2 separate regions of the Homo sapiens genome follow, and region 2 is linked to region 1. Evidence: promoter capture Hi-C in 16 types of primary human blood cells and fetal thymus (Javierre and others, 2016). All regions are on one chromosome and are shown on one strand. The core of a region is centred on a gene start or on the middle of the fragment in contact, and the rest is flanking DNA. Distances in the headings are between cores, read along the strand shown.

Region 1 (2,700 bases), core at 73-2,572:
CTATTAATCTGGATTTCAAAGGTCGTTATAGGAAAGAGACGCAATGAAGAGGACAGATTTATTCCACTCCACAATTCAGACTGATTTTTTGGCTCTGGCGCAATAATCTCAGGGAATTAAATTTACAGCAATTAAAATGCACTAAATAGCAAGTATGGAATGCTCAAACGCAAGTGAAAACAGCAAAACTTTAGCTGTGTGTTCCAAGATTTCAGACTAAAAGGAGAGAGTGAGGGCGGCTCTTTGTCATGTACCCCAGTGAGTACTCGCAACAGGGACAGCATCAGGTTTCTTTCTCCCTCGCTCGCACCAAGTCCCCACGTAGCATGACACTTTCAAATCAGCTAACCTGGTGTATGAAGCATGGCCAGTCCTCCACCCACCTCCCCAGAGTGGGCAGGCGGAAGGAGAAGAGGGGTGTTTTCCTCCCAGTGCTGCAAGAAAGGAGCAGCCGGGGATGACACTGGCTCCAGCAGGAGGTAGAGGGAGGAATCAAAGGCGGGTCACTACTCTTGGAACTCGGTGACAGAATCGTTTGGTCTCCGGCCCCGGCTGCCGGAAGCAGGGCGGGGTGGGGCAAGACCTCCCCCTCCCCACGGGCGGACGGGCACGGAGGGCTGGGCGGAGAGGGGATCTGAGGTGTGAGCTGCAACGAGCAAGCTCCCAGGCCCCGGCCACCTACCAGCAAGCTCTCCACGTTGATGGGGGAGCGAGGGTCTCGGATCAGCGCCTCCAGCTTCCTCTGGCGGCTCGCGCCTGCCCCGTCCCCCGGCGCGGTCTCGGGGGCGCCGGGCATTTTCCCCGTCGGCGGGGGCCGGCTCATGCCGCCACCGCTGGACCCGCACTCAGGCTCCTCGCGCTCAGGTCCCGCAGCCTCGGGGCCTAGCACCGCCCCCGAACCACCAGCTCCGGCCGGGACTCCACCCGGGCCCACCGCCTGCCTCTAGCTCCGGCTTCGGGTCTCCAAGGCGGTCCCCCGCCTGGGGGCTGCTCCCAGGGGCCCGCCCGGCCCAGCCCGGCCCAGCCCGGCCCGGCCCTGCCGGGAGCGGCGGGGAACAGACGGCGTCCCCGCCCCTCAGTCAGATTCGCGCCGCCGGTCCGCTGGTCCTCAGCGAGTGCCCGCAGGAGTCCTCGGGCGGGAGCAGGGAAGTGGCGCCGCCACCGCCGCGGCCCGGACCGCCCCGCCCTCTGGGGCCCCGGGAGGCTGAAGCCCAGGCCTGGGCCACTACGGCCGCCGCCGGCCCGCTGCCATGGTCGCCGCCGGCCGCCTTGCAGTCCCTCAGCCAGCTCCCGGCGCACACACTCCCGCGCGGCCGCCCGTCTCCGGCCGCGCGCCGCCGCTACCCACAAGCCCCTCCGCCCGCAGCCGCCGGCGCGCGTCCCCGCCGGCCCTGCGCGCGCTCCGCCCCGCCCCGCCCCGCGCACCGCGCTTCCTCCCTTTCTTTCCCTTCCTGCGTCTGTCCCGCTCCGCTTTCTCCTCTGCGCCCCTTCCTCGCCCGCCCTCGCCTCCTCCCCCTGGCGAGGTTCTCTGAGGCGAATAGCCGGGCGCGCGGTCACGGCCGAGCTCCTGCTGGGGGAGGGGAGACGCACCCAGGCCGGGTCCTTCCGCGCGCCCCCTGCCCCTCCCGCCGGACCCCGCGGACTACCCCGCGGCCCCGAGGCGGAACCCCAGACGCCGGGCCCAGCGCACCGTGCGCTGGGGGGGAGCCCGGCCGCGCCCCCCGCCGCGGCCCCCGCTGACTCAGCGCGCAGCTATGCGGGCCTCGCCTCACCCGCGCCCAAATAATAGCGACCGAGCTCGGCGCCCGCGAGGGGCCGCAGGGCCGGGGGTTTCGAGGCGAGCCTGAGAGGGGGCCCTGGGTGTCTGGGATTCCGAATTAGCGGAGGCGGGTGGAATCCTAGTCCTGGGGCAGGAGGGCCTGGGATCCTGAAAGCGTTTCTGCCCGGCTTAGACACTAACCACTTCAAGAGAACGGGAGAGCACCGGAAAAAGGCTTTCCAGCCGCAGGCCTTCGCGGGGTCTTCTCCTTTTGGGGGGCGGAAGAGGGGTGGTTATCGGGACCGTTCCGCCGCATTCCTGCCCTCTCGGCGGCCGGTGCCATCGCTTAGATCCGCCCAGGGCGCAATCCGAAAATTATGTGCCAAGAGCTATAAAACCGTTCATAGAGCCCCTTTGACCCAGTAAACCCATTTAAGGAAGTACATTTCCAAGGAAATGATCCAAAGGGCGAAGAAGGGGGAGAACTTGCAGAAAGATGTTAACAGCAGGGCTATTCACAATGTTCGTGATGACCAAAACCTGGGAATGGGCCCAGTTGTCCAACAATTGAGTAACCCAAACAGGCGCCTTCACATTAACAGCAAGAATCCTGGCAGGTATGCAGACTGTGTCAAACATGAAATTTTGGCAAGTACATGAGAAGGTATATTAGAAATAAATGAAACAAAAAAAATCGTTTGTACACACTAAAACTATGTAAAATGAGCAGCTATAAGAACCAGAGAATACAGTACTTCTTAAATAAATGGGATTTTTTTCTGTAAAGATACTTAAGAACAAATTAAATTTCAAAAAATGGAAAAACCACTCCGAAAAGCAACAATCTGATATCCATTAAGTAATAAGAATGTTAAGAACTGTCTCCCTGGCATGTCAGAGATAAACCCGAAGATAGGGTGAAGCCCCAGCCCTGTAAAAGT
Region 2 (2,700 bases), core at 111-2,610, 140 kb before region 1:
CTTGATATATGTTTCCTCCGGGGGCACTTTTCCTCTTTCATTATCATAATCTTCCTCTTTCAGATTGCAGGCTTTCCTCAAATGTTTAGTGATACTTGGTTATTTACTTGCAAAGGGGGTGGGAAAAACTTTAATCTCTATGTATGTAGGAGTTTTCTCACTGGCAAGCTTCAGTTTAAGATGAGAGGCTTTAAAAGCCAGCATTAAGCAAAGGGACCCCTAAATGCCAGAGTGAGAAAGGCTTTTCACCCCATATTAGCTGTTCTAATTACCCCAGAGGTTGTACCCAATTACTCTGTAGAGGAGAATGCTCTGATAAAAACCTTAGTGGTGGGAGGTGCCTGGCTGCAGACATATCTGCAAGGTTAATGGTAGAGTATGATCAGCAGATTAGTTCATTTAGTGTCACAACTTACTCCAGGCCTTATTTGCTCTGAATACTTCTTTTCCATCTATATCCCACTTCATGTATACCCCTGGCCTTATATATACTCCTTTCTTCTTTTGTTCTACTTCATCAGTCACAAGGCTTCCATCTAACTGCCATCTCATTCACTAGAGAACCTTCTTGCCCTCCAACCCATTCTCATTCTTATTTATTGTGGGTTTATATATTTTTTAATTCCTTTACTAGAGTTTTTCTGGAATCTTACAAGAAAGAAGAGATATACATGTTGGCCATTTTAAAAAGAAGCCAACATAGCACTTCATATGTAAATTCCCATTGCATGTATTTTTTTTTTTTTTTTACCTTCTATTCACTTATGTACCTGCCTTATCTTCCCCACTGAATAACTAATGATAAAATGCTAGTAAACTTCTCATGGGTAGGAAATGTATTTGGTTAATCTTTCTATCTTTCATAGTAACTACTACAATGCCTTACACCTAAGAGGGATGTAATCATTCATACAACATTTATTGAGGATGTAGTATATGTAAAACCTTAATCAAGGATTGGGGGCCGGGCACAGTGGCTCACACCTGTAATTCCAGTACTTTGGGAGGCAAAGCCAGGCAGATCACCTGAGGTCAGCAGTTCAAGACCACCCTGGCCAACATGGTGAAACCCTATCTCTACTAAAAATACAAAAATAAGCCGGGCATAGTGGTGGGCACCTGTATTCCCAGCTACTTGGGAGGCTGAGGCAGGAGAATTTCTTGAACCCAGGAAGGGAAGGTTGCAGTGAGCTGAGACCACACTATTGCACTCCAACTTGTGCAACAAGAGTGAAACTCCATCTCCAAAAAAAAAAAGGACTGGGGAGAACAAAATATAAATAAATGATTTTTGCCCTTCAATTTTAACCCTACAATGAACACTTCCTCTATAACCCTATTAGGTGGCTAAGATAGAAAACATGGGTGTCTTTGGTGGGGAGAGGTAAGGAAAAGAGGGACTAAGAAATAACAGAACGCCATTCACTTACAAAGAAAATAAGAGGCATATACACTAGGTATAAACAAAGCATTATTAGAAGTGGGAAGGAAACACAACCTAGATGATTAACTAGCTCTTACATCTGCATAAACACTATCGTTAGAATAAAAAGCTGGCCTGAAATAAGAGAGAAAAATAAAGCTAATATACAGAAAAAAAACCCACAAAAAACACAAAGACAAAGATGTCTGATTACTGTTCCAATTTCTAGTTCCAATTTTAAAAGTTTAAATCTCATGAAGTTGAAGGTCTAGGCTTACCCTGGCAATAAATAGATCAGCTCAGCAAAAAGAACAAAGTCTACTTGAATATTTTAAGCATCTTTTCTTAGATAGCATCAGTCTTACTGACCTGTCACAGGTATGCATAAAGCAGACAATTATAATGAGGATACATTAGTAGTAGCTGTAGTAGTTGTAACAGTAACAGATCTAGCAGTAATAGTCCCTAACACTTATCATATGATGGATGCTTTAAATAAACCATTGCTATCCTTTACAAGATCCCTAACAAGGAAGCTATTACTGCTCCCTTTCACAAGTGTGATAAAAGGCTTAGAGAAATTAAATCATTTGCCCGATGTTGGTTAGTTGGTAAGTAACAGAACCAATATTCACAACTCAGTCTGTCTGGATCCAAAGACTTTTTTCTTTCCACTCTATCACACTGTCTTTCATCAAACAACCGGGATCCAATATGACCTTTGGTCATGATTAGGAAGAAGTAATTCTCCTACTAATAGAATAAATGGGACAAATTTTAATAGTATATTTACTATATATTTTATCTTTTTTAGAGTTGAGTTCTTGTTATGCTGTCCAGGATGGCATGTAGTGGCTATTCGCAGGCATGATCACAGTGCAAAGCAATCTCACTTCACCTCAAGTGATTCTCCTGCCTCAGCTCCCCAAGTAGCTGGAACTACAGACGTGCACAATCGTGCCTATAATATTTTTAAAGTATTTTAACAATATGTTCTCCATTTTATAAGTAAATCAAGTAGACACTAGAGTACATCCTATGACATGATTAAAAATTTACATGCTGTTTATTTAACAGTCAAACATTTCCAAGTCTAAGAAACTAAGGAAACAAACAGGCACACGGACAATAAGCTTGAGAAAGAGCCCTGAGGAGGAATCTAAAAGCATGGTATGAAAATCCCAGATATTTTCTTCTGCCTCATCACCAACACTTCCTCTATCATCACATTGTAATTAGGTAGCAGCAGTAAAAACTGTTGGGGAAACGAATATAAT

Evidence for each region. The method cuts DNA at HindIII sites, captures the fragments that hold promoters and counts their contacts. A CHiCAGO score of 5 or more calls a contact.
Region 2: a contact is called between a fragment that was not itself captured here and the fragment with the promoter of ROCK2 in region 1, in 1 of 17 cell types (megakaryocytes). The highest score is 6.3, in megakaryocytes.

What each region holds. Positions count from the first base shown.
Region 1 is chr2:11,343,314-11,346,013 of GRCh38, forward strand. ROCK2 (Rho associated coiled-coil containing protein kinase 2) reads right to left here and starts at 1,323. Exons shown (of 33, transcript NM_004850.5): 1 at 683-1,323. The coding sequence starts at 823. It overlaps LOC124907733 (a long non-coding RNA gene), which reads left to right and starts at 2,199. Exons shown (of 2, transcript XR_007086216.1): 1 at 2,199-2,376. RefSeq lists silencers at 638-1,367, 1,508-1,577, 1,648-1,807. The HindIII fragment of the contact is 12,622 bases long and covers 1-2,700 here.
Region 2 is chr2:11,204,865-11,207,564 of GRCh38, forward strand. The region is part of intron 20 of ROCK2 (Rho associated coiled-coil containing protein kinase 2); the gene reads right to left. Among named protein-coding and RNA genes, the nearest start is that of SLC66A3, 51 kb to the left of the region's middle. The HindIII fragment of the contact is 2,388 bases long and covers 167-2,554 here.